2 separate regions of the Homo sapiens genome follow, and region 1 is linked to region 2. Evidence: promoter capture Hi-C in 16 types of primary human blood cells and fetal thymus (Javierre and others, 2016). All regions are on one chromosome and are shown on one strand. Each heading gives the region's core, a stretch centred on a gene start or on the middle of the fragment in contact. The rest is flanking DNA. Distances are from core to core; before and after follow the strand shown.

Region 1 (5,809 bases), core at 122-2,621, 410 kb after region 2:
GCATGCTGAATTACCTCTAAAATAATTAATGAATGAGTAGAAGAATTTTTGTTAGTAATAATAGATAGAATTTGGGAGTTTAGATCTGTGGGACTTGTTGACTGGCAGGCTACATTAGAAGAAATAGGTGGCCTGTGGACATCAAATGTAGGCATGCAGAGTTGTTATTTTGGGGTGTTGGCAATGGTATTAACCATTAACACTCCCTATTCTGCCCTGAAGATAATCAGCAAAGAGTTGTGATAATGATAGTGATGATAATGATCATGATGGTGGTGGTTATAATAGTGATGATGAAAATGGTGATGATGATGGTGATGGTGATGATGATGATGATGATAATGGTGATGATAGTGATAATGAAGATGATGGTGATGATGATGGTGTGATAATGACCATGAAGATGGTGATGATGGTGATGATGATAATGGTGATGATAGGGATAATGATGATGATGGTGGTGATGATGGTGTGATAATGACGATGAAGATGGTGATGTTGGTGATTATGGTGGTGATGATGATGATGGTGGTGATGGTGATAATGGTGATGGTGATGATGATAATGGTGATGATGGTGATAATAATGATGATGATGATGGTGATGATGAAGATGATGATGGTGATGATGATAGTGATAATGATGGCGATAATGATGATGGTGCAGGAGACCTAAATGCTGCAGGGCTGCATTGCCTTTAAACACTAAAAAATGGGCAGGGCGCAGTGGCTCACGCTTGTAATCCCAGCACTTTAGGAGGCTGAGGCAGGCAGATCATGAGGTCAGGAGATCGAGACCATCCTGGCCAACATGGAGAAACCCCGTTTCTACTAAAAATGCAAAAATTAGCTGGGCGTGGTGGTGCGTGCTTGTAATCCCAGCTACTCGGGAGGCTGAGGCAGGAGAATAGCTTGAACCAGGGAGTTGGTGGTTGCAGTGAGCCTAGATCACGCTACTGCACTCCAGCCTGGTGACAGAGTGAGACTCCATCTCAAAAAAAAAAAAAAAAAAAAAAAGGAAAGAAAAACGAATTGCCCTACCCTCTCATGAAATGTTAATACTACAGATATACTGTATACCTATATATGTATTTTCTATATATACATATGTATCTTATACATAAAAGAGTAAGCTTAAAAAGATCTCTTCCTGAGAACCAAGTTTGGGTCCTTAGAGGATATATCACCCCTTTTGAGAATGCATGCTTTAATGTATGTTTTTGAAAATCAGCTAGAACTTTTTTTTTTAGACAGGGTCACCTAGGCTGGAGCGCAGTGGCATGATCTTGGCTCACTGCAGTCTCTATCTCCTGGGCTCAAGCAATCCTTCCACCTCAGCCTCCTGAGTAGCTGGGGCTACAAGTTGTCACCACCACCCAGCTAATTTAAAAAATTTTTTTTTTGTAGAGACAAAGTCTCACTGTGTTGTCCAGGCCGGTGTCAAACTGCTGGTCTCAAGTGATCCTCCCACCTTGGCCTCCCGAAGGGCTGGGATTATAGGTGTGCACCACAGTGCTTAGCCTGGAACTATTTAATCAAAAAGAAAAAGAAGATAAAGACAGACAAAATGAAAAGCAAAAGCAAAGTACAGAAAACCAGGAATGGTCATTGTTAAGCTTATGCAAAATAGTGTATGTTTGTTCCTTAACTAGGTTTGTCATCTAGCCTCTTCAAACCTATTTCTGTGGGGCCAAGCCAGGAGTAATTTTGCAGGTTGAGCCCAAAAGGTTTTTTTTTTTTTTTTTTTTTTTGGTGGTTCATGGTGTTTTTCTTTTCTTTCTTCACAGGATGTTGTGTTATGCACAGCTGGGAAGGGCACATAAGACCCACACGGAAACCAAACACAAAGGGTAAGTTGGCCAGAGAGAATGCAGATGCCTGAAGGGGTAGAGAAAGTTTTCTCCCCGGGGAAACATCCCAGGAAGCTGAGCCTCATCCAGATGCTTGCTGGGAGCTAGTTAGCGGCAGAGCAAGGGTTAACATGCAAGTCTCCTGATTCTCACTTCAGGCTCTTTCCTTTGTGCTTAGAATTGCTGTGTGATCTCAGATAAGTCACATAACCTCTCTGAACTTCAGTTTCCCAAGCTGTGAAATACAGATAACAATAGGGATGTTGTGAAACTTTAATTCAAAGAGGTAGCTTTGGAAACCACCTGGTATGTAGTATGAGCTTTATAAATGGTAGTGTAGTGAGAGTAGGGATGGAATTTACTCAAACTACAACTCAATGTGCAAAAAAAAAGTGACTTCTTTATGTTTTGTTAAATACTCTCATCTACATAAACTCTTGCTGGATAAAGGAAGAAAGACATTGTCAGTTCGTAGTTGTTGATATGGTTTGGCTATGTCCTCACCCAAATCTCACCTTAAATTGTAAGAATCCCCACGTGTCAAGGGCGGGGCCAGTTGGAGATAATTGAATCATGGGGGATGGTTTCCCCCATACTGTTCTCGTGGTAGTGAGTAAGTCTCACGAGATCTGATGGTTTTATAAATGGGAGATCCCCGCACAAGCTCTCTTGCCTCCTGCCATGTAAGTAAGACATAATTTTGCTCCTCATGATTGTGAAGCCTCCCCAGCCATGTGCAACAGTGAGTCAAATTAAACCTCGTTCCCTTATAAATTACCTAGTCTCGGGTATGTCTTTATTAGCAGCATGAAAACAGACTAATACAACTGTTCCCAGTGTCTCTGTTTCCTGGTTCTTCTTTGGGCAACTTAGCAACTTGGTCTATATTGTGTTAACAGCTCATCTTTCACATTTTTTTTTTTTTTTTGAGATAGATTCTCGCTCTGTTGCCCAGGCTGGAGTGCAGTGGTGCGATCTCGGTTCACTGCAAGCTCCGCCTTCCAGGTTCACGCCATTCTCCTGCCTCAGCCTCCCGAGTAGCTGGGACTACAGGCGCCCGCCACCACGCCTGGCTAATTTTTTTGTATTTTTAGTAGAGACGGGGTTTCACTAGAAACCAGGCTGGTCTTGAACTCCTTAGGTGATCTGCTCACCCCAGCCTTCCGAAGTGCTGGGATTACAGGCATGAGCCACTGCGCCTGGCCCCTTTGTAGGACTTTTTCAAAAGGGCTTTATTGAGATGGTTGGGAAAATTTTCTCAAGGAAGTGATGTTCCAGTGGACTTAAAGGATGGATGAATTGATGTTACCCAGGCAAAGGGGCAGGGTGGGATAGGGCATGTCTGGTGGCCAGAACGGTGGGTGCAAAGGTCCTGAGGTTGGAAAGAATTTGGAGGACCGAGCGAAGGTGAGTGTGACTGATGACACAGGGCAGGAGATGAGATGGGGAGGTGGACAGGTACCTAGTCCCACAAGACCGGGTTGTTACTCTGACCTTGGTGGGTTTCAGTTGTGAGGGAGAGGGCTAGTGGAAGAGAATGATGGGAAACTTACAGCATTAAGAGACCACAAGTGATAAAATGCCGGAAGTCTGCATAGAGAAATGTTGCCTCTACAGATGAAAGAGGAAGCTGGAAATGAGAAGAGAGATACCATCTGAGGCCTCATGCAGGGAAGGGAAATAAACAAGGCACATTATAGGAGCAAAGAACGTAGATCTCAAAACCAAATGTGTAACAAAAACAGGGTGAATAATGTCACAATCACGATAATCCATTCCTTCTGTTTTTATGATACTTTTTAGTTTTTCCATACTCCTAATTGATGTTGGCATTATCGTTGGTTCCTCTCTTTTCACTCCTCACATCCAATCCATCGGCAAATTTTGTTAGTGTTGCTTTAAAAAAATCCTGAATTGCATTCCCTTCATTGATTCCCTCTGGGTTGTATCTACTGACATCTTTCACCTGGACAAGTGCAGTCACCCCCTCCTTGGTCAGTTTATTTCTGATCTTCTATAGTTCGTCTTCCAACCAGTGGCCAGAAGGCTCATGTTAAAACCTTATGTTGTGTCCCTACTCTGCTCGAAATCCTCCCATGACTCCCATCTTTCTTTGATAAAAAACCCAACTCCACTATTCACAATAGTCAAGATATGGAATCCACCTCAGTGTCCGTCAACAGATGAATGGTTGAACTCAATGTGGTCTGCATACACAACGGATTGCTATTCGGCCATAAAAAGAATGACATTCCACAATTTGCAGCAACATGGATGAAACTGGAGGTCATTAAGTGAAACAAACCAGGCACAGAAAGACAAATGTCACATGTCCTGACTCATAGGTAGTTGCCCTACTGTGCTACTGAGCACTCGATCTCATTCCTTCCATCTAACTGTGGTTTTTGTACCAACCAGTCAATCCCTCTTTATCCCCCTTCCCCACTATCCTTTCCAGCCTCTGGTAATTGTCATTCTGCTCTCTACCTCCATTAGATAATGATGATGATGATTTTTAGCTCCCACGTAGGAACGAGAACATGCAATATTTGTCTTTCTGTGTCTGGTTTATTTCACTTAACATAATGTCCTCCAGTCCTCCAGTTCCATCCATGTTTCTGCAAAGGATGGGATTTCATTCTTTCTTTCTTTTTTTATTTTTTATTTTTTTGAGACGGAGTTTTGCTCTTGTTGCCCAGGCTGGAGTGCAATGGCGCAATCTTGGGTCACCACAACCTCCGCCTCCCCAGTTCAAGTGATTCTCCTGCCTCAGCCTCCTGAGTAGTTGGGATTACAGGCATGAACCACCATGCCTGGCTAATTTTTTTTTATTTTTAGTAGAGACGGGGGCTTCTTCATGTTGGTCAGGCTGGTCTCGAACTCCCGATCTCAGGTGATCTGCCCGCCTTGGCCTCCCAGTGTGCTGGGATTACAGGCGTGAGCCATCACGCCTGCCCGATTTCATTATTTCTTATGGCTGAATGATATTCTATTGAGTACATATACGACATCTTCCTCACCCATTCATCCACTGATAGACACTTAGGTTGATTCCATCTCTTGCATGTACTTTGGATTTTGAAAGGTCTGGCTCTGCTGCTCTCCAGCAGATGTGGTTGTGTGTCTTTGGGTAAGTCACTCAACCTCTCTGAGTCATGTTTTATTTTCACATATGGGTATTGGGAATGGTGCCCATTTCCTGTGGCTGCTGTAACAAATTGCCACAAACTTGGTCGCTTAAAACAAAAAAAACTTACCTATCATTCTGGAGGTCAGAAGTCTGAAATGGGTCCCACTGGGCTAAAATAGAGGCAATGGCAGGGCTGCGTTCCTTCTGGATGCTGTACGGAAGAACTATTTTCTTACTTTTTCCTGTATCTAGGGTCAACCATGTTTCTTGGCTCATGTCCCCTTCCCCCAACTTCAAAGCCAGCAGTGGCTGGCCAGCTCTTTCTTACATCACATCACTCTGACAATGCTTTTCTTGGTTTCAGCTTTCACTTATAAAGACTCTTGTGGTTACATTCATTGCCCCTGGATGATCCAAGATAATATGCCCATCTTGAGATCAGCATGATTAGCAACCTTAATTCCATCTGCAACCTTAATTCCTCCTTCGCCATGGACCATAACATATTCACAGGTTCCAGGGATTAGGACATGGTCCTCTTGGAAGGGTCTGTTATTCTGCCTGCCACAAGGATGACAGCAGCAAGTGAGCCTCTTTCCTAGCACCTGGGAGCCTGCTCCCACCTGTGGTCTTGTCCTTTTGAAGCTCACAGTGTGGTGGTGAAGGTGGCCATGAAGGAGCAACTCACTGAAACAATCAAGCAGTCACGGTTTTGATGAATTCCATAAAAGAAGAGCTCAGGGAGCTGTGGAGGAGTCAGGGAAGGCTTCCTGGAGGAAGTGATGCTAAAGCAAGATCTGAAAAATGAGTGGAAGCTGGCCAGGCAAAGC
Region 2 (5,910 bases), core at 3,183-5,682:
CCCAGGGAATGGGAGCTACTCACCAGCTCAAGCCCCACTGAGGCCTGGGGCCCAGACAGGGACTGCTGAAACAGATTTTGAAGAAGTTCCTCTGCCTCGGTGACCTGGGTGGGACGTGGAGGGGCGGGGGTGGCTGAGCCAGATGTGGGGATTGGGGATTCCGAGGGCTATGACTAAGGTTGAGTGGTCTGGGAGGAGCCAAGGGCTCAGGTCAGTCCTGGGAGTTTTTTTTTTTCTTTCTTTAAAAGAAATTAATAATAATAATAATAATAATAATAGAGACAAAGTCTCCCTATGTTGCCCAGGCTGGTCTTGAACTCCTGGGCTCAAGGGATCCTGCTGCTTCGGCCTCCCAAAGGGCTACAATTACAGGCGTGAGCCACCGCGCCCGGCTTTTTAAATTTTTTAATTTAAATTTTTCCTTGTAGGCCGGGCGCGGTGGCTCGCGCCTGTAATCCCAACCCTTTGGGAGGCTGAGGCATGCGGATCACCTGAGGCCAGGAGTCCGTGTCCAGCCTGGCCAACATAGTGAAAACACGTCTCTGTTAAAAGTACAAAAAAAAAAAAAAAAATTAGCCGGGCTGGTGGGCCGCGCCTATAGTCCCAGCTACTTGGGAGACTGAGGCGGAAGAATCGCCTGAACCCGGAATGCGGAGGTTGCAGTGAGGCGGAATCGCACCACCGCACTCCAGCCTGGGCGACAGAGGAAGACTCCATCTAAAAGAAATTTTTTTTCTTGAGACAGGGTCTTGCTCTGTCCCCCAGGCTGGAGTGCAGTGCTGCGATCATAGCTCACTATAGCTTCGAACTCCTGGGCTCAGTTGATCCTCCCACCTTGCTCTCCTGAGTAGCTGGGACCACAGGTGTGCACCACCACGCCTGGCTAATTTTTTATTTTTATTTTTTGAGACGGAGTTTCGCTCCTGTTGCCCAAGCTGGAGTGCAATGGCGCGATCTCGGCTCACTGCCACTTCCGCCTCCCGGGTTCAAGCGATTCTCCTGCCGCAGCCTCTGAGCAGCTGGGATTACAGGCGTGTGCCACGACGGCCGGCTAATTTTTTTTTTTTTTTTTTGTATTTTTAGTAGAGACGGGGCTTCACCATGTCGGTCAGGCCGGTCTCGAACTCCTGACCTCAGGTGATCCGCTCGCCTTGTCCTCCCAAAGTGCTGGGATTACAGGCGTGAGCCACAGCACTTGGCCAATTATTTTTTATATTTTGTAGAGACGGGGGTCTCACTATGTTGCCCAGCTGGTCTCGAACTCCAGGGCTCAAGGGATCCTCCCACCTCGGCCTCCCAAAATGCAGGGACTACAGGTGTGACACAGTGTGCCCTGCCAAGCCTGGGAGATCTGAGAGGGAGGGGTTGGGAGGTTGAGGGGGGTGGGGGCTGGGACTCCCACAGGAGTGAGAGAGGGGCTGGTCTCACTTGGTCCTGGGCTAGGAGGTCTCCCACTGTGTTCAATAGCTTGTAAAACACCTCGAACCAAGGCAGGTGGCTGTGGAGAGAGGAGACAGGTTCCACGAAGTGTCCCTAGGCCTCGGCCTTTCCCATCCCCCCCTCCAACCCCCATATCCCGCACCTGAGGATGCAGAGACAGCTCTGGGTACCCGCCCGCAGGCGGCAGAAACCAAATCTGCGGTTGCCGGCAAGGTCTGTGAGGGCGAAGGTGAAATGCTGCACGGCGGGGCTGGGGGGCTCCCTGGAGTGGGAAGGGCTGTTAGAGAGACCTGGACATCCCAGCTGTCTGAGGATGTCCCCGCTCCCCAACAAAGCTCCTAGGACCCTGAGTGTATGGGTCTCTAGTTGTCAGGATCCCTGAATGTCTGGATCCCTGGGTCTCAGAATCCCTGGGTCCCTGAATCTCTGGGTCCCTGGATCTCTGGGTCCCTGAGTCCCTGGGTCCCTGGATCTCTGGGTTTCTGGATCTCTGGGTCCTTGAATCCCTAAGTCCCTGGGTTCCTCAGTCCCTGAGTCCCTGAGTCCCTGAGTCCCTGGTCCCTGAGTTTCTGAGTCTCTGGGTTCCGAAGTCCCTGAATCCTTGTGTCCCTGAGTCCTTGAGTCTCTGAGTCCCTGGGTCCCTGGGTCCCTGGGTTCCTGAGTCCCTAGATCTCTGGGTCCCTGAGTGTCTGAGTCCCTGGATGCTAATGTATATAGGTCCCTAGTTCTCAGGGCCCCTGAGTGTCTGAGTCTCTGAGTCTCAGGGTCCTCGAGTGTATGGGTTTCCAGATGTCTGAGTCTCTAGGTGTTGAGTCCTTGGGGCCCCTGAGAGATCTGAGTCCCTGAGTCCTTGGATCTCCCCGCCCTTCCGTACCTTTCCACATCAAAAGGGAAGCAGAATTTAGGCACCATCTGCATAGCTTCCTGGAGGTGAAGAAAAGCGCAGACTGCTTGGCCACTGAGGTCGGGCACCACCTCCCTGGGCTCCAGGTCCAAGAAACCAAGTCCCCTCCCCCTGGGAGACTGGCCCTCGCCCTGGGGGAGCAAGGAGCCAGCCTGAATACCTGGTCCCTGAAGTCTGGAGGGAACTGCCGCAGGATGGGGGGATCTGTAGAAGAGAGCACGCCTCTAAGTTCAGCGACCCAGGCCCACCCTCCCCTCCCACTCCCTCACTCCCAGGCTCCCAACTCACCCTCCTGCAGGGAGGCAGGGCAGGCCGCTTCGAAGAACCAATCAAACACAGCAGGGGAGCCCCCTCTGTGGGATGCAGAAGGGGTCCAGAGACTTGCTTCTATGCATGTGTGGTTGTGTCTGCCACTTTGCACACAAGTGTGGTTGTGTGTGCATGTGCCACAAGGTGCGTCGGCATGTGCATGACTCTGGGGGTTTGTGGCTGTGAGTGTGTGGTTGTGTGAGGCTGTGTGTGCAGCAGTGTTAATTGAACACACAAGTACAGGATGGAGTGAGAAAGTGTGACTGTGTGTGTGTGGCTGTGTATGATTGTGTGTGGCTGAGTGCATGGCTTTTGTGAGCAGGCAGTGTGTGTGTGATCCTGTCTGCTGTCTGCCTGAAAAGATGAGACTGTCTCCTATATCTGTGGCATGAGACTGCACAGATATGAAGGACAGCCCGTGCAGTCCCAAGCTAAGTGAATTACATCTCTCTCTCTCTATATATATATCCATCTATCTGTCTGTCTGTCTGTCTCTGTCTATCCATCCATCCATCCATCCACCCACCCACCCACCTATCCATCCACCCACCCACCTATCTATCTATCTATCTATCTATCTATCTATCTATCTATCTATCTATCTATCTATTTTTTTGAGATGGAGTTTTGCTTTGTCACCCAGGCTGGAGTACAGTGGCACGATCTTGGCTCACTGCAACCTCCACCCCACAGGTTCAAGCGATTCTCCTGCCTCAGCCTCCCTGTAGCTGGGATTACAGGTGCCCGCCACCACGCCCAGCTAATTTTCATATTTTTAGTAGAGACAGGGTTTCACATACTGGCCAGGCTGTTCTCAAACTCCTGACCTCAGGTGATCTGCCCGCCTCAGCCTCCCAAATTGCTGGGATTACAGGCTTGAGTCACTGCATCTAGCCATGCCATCTATATTTTCTTGTATAGATGTGAGTGTGTGTGCCCGAGCAAGTGAATGACATCTATATTTTCCTGTACAGCTGTGAGTGTCACTGGGTAACCGCGTGGGATCCTTGTGGGCTGGCTGTGTGTCTCTGTGTGTGAGACCCCATAGAACCCTCGTGGCTGGTCCCACATGTCTCATCAGAGAAAGGAGGGCAGGATACCTAGGTACTTACTGTAAGCCCTGCAATCTCTGCTTTCCTCCTCTGCCCCCATATCAAGCAGAAGAGGCAGCCTTGGGCTCAAGGAGAGAGACAGGGAGATCTAGAGGGAGATCAGCTGCACACACACTGTCCCGCCCAGTTGCACACACAGTCCCCACCATGGGTACCCCAGCACTTCACCCTCACGCCGACACAAGTCACACACGATCACCCACTCATACCAACACCCAGCCTCCCCTCTGCCCTGATCATCCGCCCTGTGGACCCCCTGAAGCCATCACTCAGACATACCAAGGACAAAGCTCAGAGGGGTACATGCATTCACAGAGCTATAGACATAATCACAGGAGCTGGATAGAGAGAGAGAGAGAGAGAGAGAGGAGGGGACCGAGAGTGGCCTGTCCCAGAGTGAAGGTCATAGCGGAGGCCCATGGAGTATCTGATTCCAGCCACCTGCCCTGGCAGGTCACTGCACCTCCCGGGCCTGCTCCAGCCCCAGCTCCCCTCTGCCCCGGCTCAGGCCTGGCCCGGGAATCTTGTACCAGAGAATGAGGGATGGGGTGGCTCTTACTCAGCTCTGGATTCCATGGTCCCTGCAGGGCCAGCCCAGCGGGGCCCTCTCCCCAGGGGTCCTGGGGGCCTGTGTATGCTGGGCCCCAAGCCGGCTCAGCTTCCTGTGTGGCTGAGAGAGGAAGTTTAACGGGTGACGTCCCCGGACAGAGGCCCTGCCCCCACCCCCGTGAGAAACCCAGGCATCCTGCCTGCTAATTATGTTGGGGATGGGTGGGCAATAAGTGGTCAGCCTGGGAAGGCAGACCCCCAGCTCCGTCCCCGCCAGGCTGGACTGTGTCTGGTTCCCCCCATCGTGCCTGGGCCCTCATCTCTCCTTCCCCGCTCCGCAGCAGCCAAGATTCACAGTCTGTCTATTAATGAAATGCCTCCCCGTCTCTTTCCCTTGGTCCATTTGGCCTGGACGGTCACTGGTGGACCACCAGAGGGAGCCACCTGTAAAGTGGACGGTGGGGGGGCCAGGGATGGGGACAAAGAGCACGAAGTACAGGCACAGGGACGGACAGACAGACACAGACACAGACAGTTACACGCTCAGGAAGTCATCAGCACAGACAAACCGAGTGCAGAAGAGCCAGAGACGACAGACATGGAGAGATAGGGAGTCCTACAGCTGGATCATAGTCCCAGGCCGGGCACAGTGGCTCACGCCTATAATCCCAGCACTTTGAGAGGCCAAGGTGGGAGGACCGCTTGAGCCCAGGAGTTCGAGACCAGCCTGGGAAACATGGCGAAACCCTGTGTCTATAAAAGCTACAAAAATTATAGCTGGCGGTGGTGGCACGCACCTATAGTCCCAGCTTACCCAGGAGGCTGAGTCAGGAGGATCGCCTGAGCCTGGGGAGTTTGAGGCCATAGTGAACCAAGATTGCACTACTGTACTCCAGCCTGAGCAACAAAGTGAGATCCTGTCTCAAAAAAAAAAAAAAACAACTTAGTCACAGTTACACACCCATTGTGCGCAGAAAGACAAGGTAAGCGGATCACTTGAGGTCAGGAGTTTGCAACCAGCCTGGCCAACATGGTGAAACCCTGTCTCTAATTAAAAAAAAATACAGGCCAGGTGCGGTGGCTCACATCTGTAATCCCAGCACTTTGGGAGGCTGAGGCAGGTGGATCACGAGGTCAGGAGTTCGAGACCAGCCTGGCCAAGATGGTGAAACCCAGTCTCTACTAAAAATACAAAGATTAGCCAGGCACGGTGGTGGGCATCTGTAATCCCAGTTACTCAGGAGGCTGAGGCAGAATTATTTGAACCTGGGAGGCGGAGTTTGCAGTGAGCCGATATCGCGCCGCTGTACTCTAGCCTGGGCGACAGAGCAGGACTCTGTCTCAAAAAATCAAAAACAAACAAACAAACAAAAAATTAGCTGGGCATGGTGGCATGTGCCTGTAATCCCAGCTGCTTGGGAGGCTGAAGCAGGAGAATCACTTGAATCCGGGAGGCAGAGGTTGCAGTGAGCCGAGATCGTGCCACTGCACTCCAGCCTGGGTGAAAGAGTGAGACTCCATCTCAAAAACAAAAACAAAAACAAAGCAAACAAACAAACAAACAAATGCAGAGACAGACAGAGACACAATAAACAG

What was found. The method cuts DNA at HindIII sites, captures the fragments that hold promoters and counts their contacts. A CHiCAGO score of 5 or more calls a contact.
Region 1: a fragment that was not itself captured here is called in contact with the fragment with the promoter of DENND1C in region 2 in 1 of 17 cell types (activated CD4 T cells); the score reaches 7.7 in activated CD4 T cells.

Annotation. Positions count from the first base shown.
Region 1 is chr19:6,888,695-6,894,503 of GRCh38, forward strand. ADGRE1 (adhesion G protein-coupled receptor E1) reads left to right here. Exons shown (of 21, transcript NM_001974.5): 2 at 1,787-1,849. Among named protein-coding and RNA genes, the nearest start is that of ADGRE1, 4.0 kb to the left of the region's middle. The HindIII fragment of the contact is 483 bases long and covers 1,131-1,613 here.
Region 2 is chr19:6,477,355-6,483,264 of GRCh38, forward strand. DENND1C (DENN domain containing 1C) reads right to left here and starts at 4,433. Exons shown (of 23, transcript NM_024898.4): 1 at 4,325-4,433; 2 at 2,633-2,697; 3 at 2,505-2,548; 4 at 2,315-2,364; 5 at 1,583-1,702; 6 at 1,429-1,498; 7 at 24-104. The coding sequence starts at 4,341. RefSeq lists enhancers at 2,528-3,027, 4,624-4,918. The HindIII fragment of the contact is 23,241 bases long and covers 1-5,910 here.